2 separate regions of the Homo sapiens genome follow, and region 1 is linked to region 2. Evidence: promoter capture Hi-C in human tissues and cell types (Jung and others, 2019). All regions are on one chromosome and are shown on one strand. Each heading gives the region's core, a stretch centred on a gene start or on the middle of the fragment in contact. The rest is flanking DNA. Distances are from core to core; before and after follow the strand shown. Region 1 overlaps CCDC13 (coiled-coil domain containing 13). Region 2 holds the start of KLHL40 (kelch like family member 40).

What was found. The method cuts DNA at HindIII sites, captures the fragments that hold promoters and counts their contacts. A contact is called where the count stands out against the background at its distance.
Region 1: a fragment that was not itself captured here is called in contact with the fragment with the promoter of KLHL40 in region 2 in 2 of the 25 tissues and cell types used here (dorsolateral prefrontal cortex and spleen).

What each region holds. Positions count from the first base shown.
Region 1 is chr3:42,760,659-42,766,229 of GRCh38, reverse strand. The region is part of intron 1 of CCDC13 (coiled-coil domain containing 13); the gene reads left to right. Among named protein-coding and RNA genes, the nearest start is that of CCDC13-AS2, 7.2 kb to the left of the region's middle. The HindIII fragment of the contact is 3,761 bases long and covers 2,388-5,571 here.
Region 2 is chr3:42,683,809-42,686,786 of GRCh38, reverse strand. KLHL40 (kelch like family member 40) reads right to left here and starts at 1,250. Exons shown (of 6, transcript NM_152393.4): 1 at 17-1,250. The coding sequence starts at 1,168. RefSeq lists enhancers at 2,476-2,770, 2,593-2,978. The HindIII fragment of the contact is 17,953 bases long and covers 1-2,978 here.

The sequences.
Region 1 (5,571 bases), core at 3,019-5,518, 76 kb before region 2:
CCCACCCAGCATCTCAAAGTCCACCACCTTGTCTGCAGCGTGGAAAACTGCTCCTCTGTCAGGGCCTGCTGTCTCCCCAGTCACTCAAACCCAAACCGCCTAGGTTTCTCCCCTCTCCTTCTCTGCATAGTTGCCTTCAGTCCCTTCCATTTGGCAGCAATTCCTCTTCCCCCTCCTCCATCTCCACTGCTACAGTTTTGATTTAGGCCCACATGGCTTCCCAGAGACCCCCTCCTAGCTAGGCCCTTTGCCTCCAGCTCTGCAGAAGGCAAAGCTGATCCTGTGTGCACCCTCTGAACATCTCCAGCGCCTCAGGATAAAGTCCAGGCTCCTTAGCTGGGCAGATCAGACCCTTCTTCTGGTGCCTCCCCAAATGTGCCCTGCCCTCTGGCCATTCTGAACCTTTCATAGTTCCCCACACTCATCACATTCTCTGCACATGCTGTTCTGGCAGGAGAGCCCGTTGCCCCCCACTCAGGCACCGTCCCTTCCCCACCCAGGTGAATTTCTTCTGCATTCAGCTTCAAATTGACTGAGATGCCTGTCTCTCCTGCAGCTTCTCTCTCCCCAGACAGCCTCTCAGAGTGCTTAACACCTCTCATTCTCAAACCAGCTGAACGTTAGGCTCACCTGGGAAGCTTTAAAAATACAAAAATGTTAGCTGGGCGTAGTGGTGCATGCCTGTAGTCCCAGCTACTCGGGAGGCTGAGGCAGGAGAATCGCTTGAACCCAGGAGATGGAGGTTGCTGTGAGCCGAGATCGTGCCATTGCACTCCAGCCTGGGCAACGAGAGTGAAACTCCATCTCAAAAAAATAAAAATAAAAATAGACACCCTGGCCACAGCCCAGATAATTAATTTCAAATCTCCACTGGCCTCATGAATAGCACAGATTAGATACTAATACTCTGGGGGCCGGTCTGGACCACAGGTGTCCTCTCAGTGCAGGCATTACTGTCTATCCCAGAGGCTCCGTTGGGCCAAGAGCACCACTTTTCATACAGTGATAATGATAATTATTTCCATGCATTCTTCCACTTAATCTCACAAACTCCCTGTGAAGTTCGTAAGTATCAGAGTCCCATTTTACAAATGGGAAACGAAAGCAAAGAGGTTAAGTAATTTGCCTGGGGCACAGTGTACATTCAATGAGTACCAGTTCCTCAGTGACTTCAAGTGCAAATTGGGAGTAGAAAAGGAGAAAAGCTTTACAAGTTACTGTGTTCATTCATTCAGTGACAATTCTACAAATGACAGTTGAAGGCCTGTTCTGGGCAAGATGTTGAGATTTAGCAAATGAATAAGGTATTAGGACCCCTGCCCTTAAGAGGTCTCTTTGTAAAGGGAAGTAATGTAAATAAAATAATAGATAATTATAATACACTGAGGTTAAGTTTAGTGATCAAGGGGTGCCCTAGGGATTCTGGGAGTCCACAGAGTGCCCTGAGGGGAATCCTAGAGGCTAACTGGGAGTTAGTGGGAAGGTAAAGGGCTGGGATGGGGAGGCCTGGGAGGAAGGCCTCCCAGGTAGAGGAGTGGCTGAAGCCAGCCTCTGAGATGCCACTGGGCTTAATCCACAGCAGGAGCCACAAACCCAAAACATCTGCTGTGGCTGATGGGAAATAAAAGTGAATCCAGCAGGTTTAAGAGAAAGAACAACATTTATGTGCAGTGATAATGGGCAGCTGATGTGCCAGCTGCAGCATCTGGAGGTGGCAGGGACAGTGGTTTAATGGAAAGAACCTATTATGCACCAAAGGAACTCTCTGCATAGCAGCTGCTGTCCGTGTGGGACGATGGGCCCAGCATTGCCAGATCTGTAAACTTTTATAAAAGAAGCTGGTGTAAACTAAACATAAAATTCAGAGGCCCCCCATCCATCTGAATGGACTTCCTTCTCAGCCAGGGCACTCCAAAGTTAACCTGAAAGACCAGTTCAGGCCTTGATGGGAAGCAAGGGTTGGACACGCCTCATTATACCCTCCTCCCTTTTGGAATTCAGGAAAAGTTGACCAACATTTAACATCAACACAGACCTTAAGTCTGATAAGAAACATTTACAATCTATTCTCTCTGAAGCCTGCTACCTGGAGGCTTCATTTGCATGATCAAAACTTTTATCTCTTTTATTCTAACCCAGATATTCCTTTCTATTTATAGTAACTCTTTTAACCAATTACCAATCAGAAAAATTTTAAATCTACTTATCACCTGGAAGCTCCCCCCTCCCAACCTTGGAGTTGTCCTGCTTTTCTGGACCAAATCGGTATATATCTTAAATGTATTTGATTGATGTCTCAGGTCTGCCTGAAATGTATAAAACCAAGCTGTGCCCTGACCACCTTGGGCACGTGGTCTCAGGATCTCCTGAGGGCTGTGTCACAGGCCATGATCACTCACATTTGGCTCAGAATAAATCTCTTCAGACTGGGTGCAGTGGCTCACACCTGTGATCCCAGCACTTTGGGAGGCTGAGGTGGGTGGATCACTTGAGATCAGGAGTTCAAGACCAGCCTGGCCAACATGGTGAAACCATGTCTCTACAAAAACATACAAAAATTATCTGGGTGTGGTGGTGCATGCCTGTAGTCCCAGCAACTCAGAAGGCTGAGGCAGGAGAATTGCTTGAGCCCAGGAGGCAGAGGTTGCAGTGAGCCAAGATTGTGCCACTGCGCTCCAGCCTGGGTGACAGAGCGAGACTTCATCTAAAAAAAAAAAAAAAAAAAAGTACATCTCTTCAAATATTTTACAGAGTTTGACTGTTTTTGTTGACACTGGAAATCTGATATTGAAACTACAATTCTTTGAATGTTGGCAACAAATTCAAATCCTAACATAGTGTTCTGTAAGAGCCAAACAAAAATGTCTGTGGGATGTGTTAAACTAACTGTAGCCTAAAGCTGCCTTCTTATATATTCTAAGTTCAGCCTAAAGGTTTCTCTGTACGTAGTAAACTGTAACCTGACTAGGAATTTAAACAGACTGCAATCTACTCTTGTACCAGTCACAGAGTTTCAGCCAATCACAGGCAGCCAGCTATTCAAATTGTATTCAAAAAAGGCAAACAGCCAGCTGTAATCAGTCTAGCTGTTTCTGTACCTCACTTGTGCTTTCTGTTCATCACTTTCCTTTTTCTGTTCATAAATCTTTTTCGACTAGGTGGCAGCCCTGGAGTCACTCTGAATCTGTTCTGGTTCTGGGGGCTGCTAGATTTGTGAATCATTCTTTGCTCAGTTGAATTCTGTTAAATTTGATTTGTTTAAAGTTTTTCTTTTTTTATTTTGGAGACAGGGTCTGACTGTCACCCAGGTTAGAGTGCAGTGGCGCGATCACAGCTCATTGTAGTCTCAACCTCCTGGGCTCAAGCTGTGCTTCCACCTTGGCCTTCCAAAGTGCTGGGATTACAGGTGTGAGCCATCATGCCTGGCCTAACGTTTATCTTTTAACAAAGGATATAGCCTTTGGGCCAGCTATTATACTCACATGTATTGTTTATTACAATGAAAGAATACGGGTCAAAATCAGCAAAGAGACACATAGGGCAGAGTCCAGGAGACACCAGGTGCAAGCTTCCAGTTGTCTTCTCCCAGTGGAGTCATGTTGACAGTACTTACTTCTCCCAGAAACAATTCGTGGCAACTTACATGGAGTACTGCCAGCCAGGGAAGCTCCCCTGAGTCTTGGTGTCCAGGGTTTTTATTAGGAGATGGTTACGTAGGTACAGTTGACCTTAGTCACTCGATCTCCAGCCCCCTCCAGCCTACCCTGCACCTGGCAATGAATCACATTGTTAATTAACATGGACTGGAATGGCCCAAGGTCCCCAGGTGAAGAAAAACACTCTCATCAGGAAGGATGGTCCAAGGGCTCAGAGATTCTCTCTTAGGAGCGGGTCAAAGGCCAAACATGTTTTTTGGAATGTGCGGGTGTGCACAATACAGGTTTTCAGAGTTAATTCTTTATAGTTCCTCTTACTGGGCAGAGCTGCCTGGTAAGGAATTTCAACATAACACCAGCTTCTGCTTTTGTTTGACCTTTGCCAAACCCTGGGCTCAGCCCACAGCACATTAAAACCAGCTGGGCAGCAGTTAAACCATCCCATGCTTGGTCTCCACTCCAGACTAATTTAAATCAGATTCTCTAGGGGTGGGCCTGGTTATCAGCATTTTTAGATTGTATCCTGGGGATTTGGTATTGAAGCAAGTTTAAGAGTAACTGGGTACAGGCTCTGGGACCACCCCTGTGTGTGAGATGGAGATAAGTATATTAAGAAGGTACAGATAGAGCAGTTGAAGCTGTTTGGGTAGGTAGAGTATTCCTCCTGGCGGGTCAGAAAAGGACCATGGTATTCATGCTGGGTGTAGGAGGACCAGCAAGATTTAAGCCTTGGGGGGAGAAGGAGGTATAGGAACAGAGGAGCAAGTCAACACAACTAGCTAGAAGTTAGCATTATGAAAGGGAAAACAGGCTAGAAGGACACAGAGGCCAAATCCAAAGCGCTTAATGCCATTGGACTTGGCTTTGTGGCTAAGGGGCATCTGCTGAAGCTTTTTGCACAGGAGTCTGTCAGGCTCAGAGCTGTGGTTTAGAGAAACTTGTCCCTCAGCAAATGTTATTCATTTGTTCAGCAAGTATTCATTCCATGCCTGCCATATACCAGGCCCTGCTACAGGCACTGAGGATACAGCAATGAACAACACAGTGCCTGCCATTGTGAAGCTGGTGGGGAGGGAGAGAGGCAGTCAACAAGTAAACAAATCAAAATATAATGTGTCAGATGACTCTCAGTGCCATGGAGGAAGACAAAACAGGGCAAGGGCATGGGGAGCGAGGGCAGGGATGCCTTCTACAATAGGATATGAGGAGACCTCTGTGATAAGGTGACATTTGAGAGGAAGTAGGTAAGGTAGATGTCTGGGGGAAGGACATTCCTGGAGAGGTAACAGCAAGTGCAGATACCCCAAGGTGGTTATGAGCCTGGTATCAGTGGGAATGGAGACATGGGGGCAGATTTTAGGACATTTATGGAAAATAAACAAGATTTATGATTAATTGGATGATAGGTAGATGATGTGGCTTGAGGTTGGTTTAAGGCAGGGATGCTTACCACTGGCTACACTTTAAAATCGTGAGGGGAGCATTTAATAATTCCAGTGTCTGTGCTCTATTATTTCATTTATGTGAAGTTCAAACAGACAAAGTATCAAGAATGTACAAGAAACTGATCATTCAGTAACAGTGAGTGATTGTATTGTGACTGTAAATTGTATTGTCTAATACAATTTAAAAATGGGCAAAAAATGTGAATAGACACATCACAAAAGAAGATATACACATGGTCAACAAGCACATGAAAAGATGCTCAACATAACTAGTCAACAGAGAAATACAAATTAAAAACACATTGAGATACCATTTTATTTTTATTTTATTTTAATTAATTAATTTATTTATATTTTATTTATTTATTTATTTTGAGACAGAGTCTTGCTCTGTCACCCAGGTTGGAATGCAATGGCGCAATCTTGGCTCACTGCAACCTCGGCCAGGCTGGAGTGCCATGGCGCAATCT
Region 2 (2,978 bases), core at 1-2,500:
AAGGCTGGTCAGGCACCTGCAGGAAGTATGCGCTCATGGGGTCCTCTTTGTTGTCTTCGTTGTAGAAGAGGCCTCCAGCCACGAAGACCTGGTTCTCCTTGGTAACCAGGCTGACGTGGTTCTTGGGGACCTGGTTGGAGAGGGAAGCACAGTAGCACTCGTTGGCTGCTGGATCGTAGGCCACAGCGCCCTCCTCACTGATCATGAAGATGAGATCCTGCAGGAACATGCCGAAGCGCAGGGTGTCATTGAGGATCCCAGGAAGGATACGTTCGGCCTCCTCATCCTCCTCTGCTTTGGCTTTGCTTGTGCCCTTATCAGCCTCCTTGGCCCCGGCTCCATCCTTCCCCTTCTTTTTCTTCCGCAGCGTGGTGATGCGGCCCTCGTGTGCATCCTTCACCATCTGCACCTTGCGCAGCAACTCGGGCTGGGCACGCACGAGAGGGTGGCGCTCCACGCGGCTTTCCAGAAAGGCGCGCGGCAGCAAGCGGCAGCGCACGCTCTCGAAGACGGTGGGCAGCGCGCGCTGGCGCTCAGCCTGCGCCTCGGCGTCGCCGCTACCCGCCCACCGCATCACCGCCTCGAACACTGCCTCCTCCTTCTCCACGTTAAGGCCGTCGCTGGAGATGATGGCGATGAGCTCGTCGGCCGAGAGTCCGAGGAAGTCAGCGTCGCGCGCCACCAGCGTGAAGTGAGCGCAGATGAAGTCGCGGGCAGCCACGGCGAGACGCGCGCAGTCGAGCAGGAGGCCGAGACGGAAGACGGCCAAGCAGTTGGAGAGGCACAGGCGCTTCTGCAGGAAGGACACGCAGATGGTGAAGATGGAAGGGATCTGGAAGCGGTGTGCCGCGGCGAACAAATCCTGCACGCTCGCCTCATCCAGCGCGATCTCTGATGTGTACAGGTAGTGCAGCACCTGGGCCACCACGTCCGGGGACACCTCCTCCAGGTGCAGCTCGCCCGCGCGCTCCGGCTCGGCTAGAAAGCGCGCCCGGAAGTAGGGGCTGCAGGCGGCCAGCACCAGGCGATGGCACGGGAACTCGCGCTCGCCCGCCCGCACCACACAGTCGAGGAACTTGCCATGGTCCAGCATGTCTTTGAGCCCGTCTTGCAGGAGCGTCTGCTGGTACAACCGCTGCTCCTCCGCCTGCTCCAAGCCCAGCGCCATGGTGGGTGGCCTAGGGTGCGGTGGCGGTGCCAAGGGGGCTCCTCTCTGTACCCCTGCTTTCCTGCTGGGGTTTGCTTAGACTGAGCAGCTGTCTTCGAGGGGCTATATATAGAGGTGGCCGGGTCCCTGTAAGGCGAGCCGCCTGGCCTCCTGCACATGACGCACAGGGGACAGCTGGGCAGAGGCCCCCTCCCAGAGAAAGACTTGACTCAGCCCCGGGGGCTTATGGGACGGGGGTGGGGTGTCTGGGCCCTTCTGAAAGATGAGGGCCTGGCTGCCTCATTTCTAAATGGAGCACGGAGAGGTCTTGACTCTGGATTCTTTGGTCAGGAGATGCCCCTAGGGGAGAAGGTGGCCTAAGCTCTGACCCTCAGTCCAGAGACGGGAAAGCACTGGAGCCTCTCTTCCAGGGTCTCCCTTCCTTCATGCTTTCTGGGAACTTCTGTCCTGGTGCCTCCATCTTCCCCCCCGGAATATGTCTCACTCCAGCTACCCCTGGATACAGGGTGCTTGGGTTTTCTGGTCAGAAGTTGGACATGGTGTTCACTTTTTGGCGGCCCTGTTGCCCTGCCTTTATTTTAAGAGGCAGGGTCTCACTATGTTGTCCAGCCTGGACTTGAACTCCTGGGATCAAGCCATTCTTCTGCCTCAGCCTCCCTCGTAGCTGAGATTACAGACATAAGACACCACCCCCGTTGCCTCACCTTTAAAATGGGAAGAGCTTTTCCTCTTTCTGTCCCTCCTCCTTGCAAGAAAGCAAGAAGGTACCTTAGGTAAACAAGGTTGCCACTTTCCTATGAGGCCTGGGGCAGGGCATGTCGCTCTGTTAAGCCACAGTTTCCCTTCCTACACAATGAGGAGGTGGCAAAGTTAGATGCTAAGGACCTCAGTTCAACTCTGCTGGAAGTTTAGAAGCACCAAGGTACTGTGTCCTGGGAGTACACTATTAGTTTTAACACTTCTAAGGTGTCAGATGTGCTAGCAAATTAATTTCTTAGGATTCTACTATTCTAGGTTTTTAAACCCCCGGGGTTTTAACATTCTAGGGAGTGACATTCTGAATTCTAGTGTTCAAAAAGTAACACTACAAGTTTAATATTTCAGGACTTTAGCTATCTATACTCACTATTCTTGGTGCATATTAGGCCAGACCTGAGACTGCCTGGCCATGGGGCCCCTGCACCTTGTCTATGGTCTGAGGGACCAGGGTTGAAGCCCAGGACAGCCAGTCTTGATGCCTACCTTGTTCTAGACTACTGACACCCCTCCCCACACCCTCCCCACCCCGCCCCACCACCAGACACACACACACACACACACACACACACATCAGCCTCAGTCACCAAGATTAACTTGTTCCCAAAGTGCCAGAGGCTGCAGCTGTGTGTTAAATTTAGCCCCCAGGACATTGGAATGAACTATTATGAGACACACCCCCATCATTCCTCTGAGTCACTTGTTTATAACGTCAGGCGGGGGAGTGGGGGAGGGGGTGGGTATAGGAGAGATGACAGCAGGCTGGGCTAGGACTGAGTCACCTCCCTTTTGTGATCTCAGCAATATCACTCTCTGTCCCTTTTGTTTTTAGACGGAGTTTCGCTCTTGTTGCTCAGGCTGGAGTGCAATGGCGCAATCTCAGCTCACTGCAACCTCCGCCTCCAGGGTTCAAGCAATTCTCCTGCCTAAGCCTTCCTAGTAGCTAGGATTACAGGCGCTGACCACCACTCCCGGCTAATTTTTTTTTTTTTTTTTTTTTTTTGGATTTTTAGTAGAGACGAGGTTTCACCATGTTGGCCAGGCTGGTCTTAAA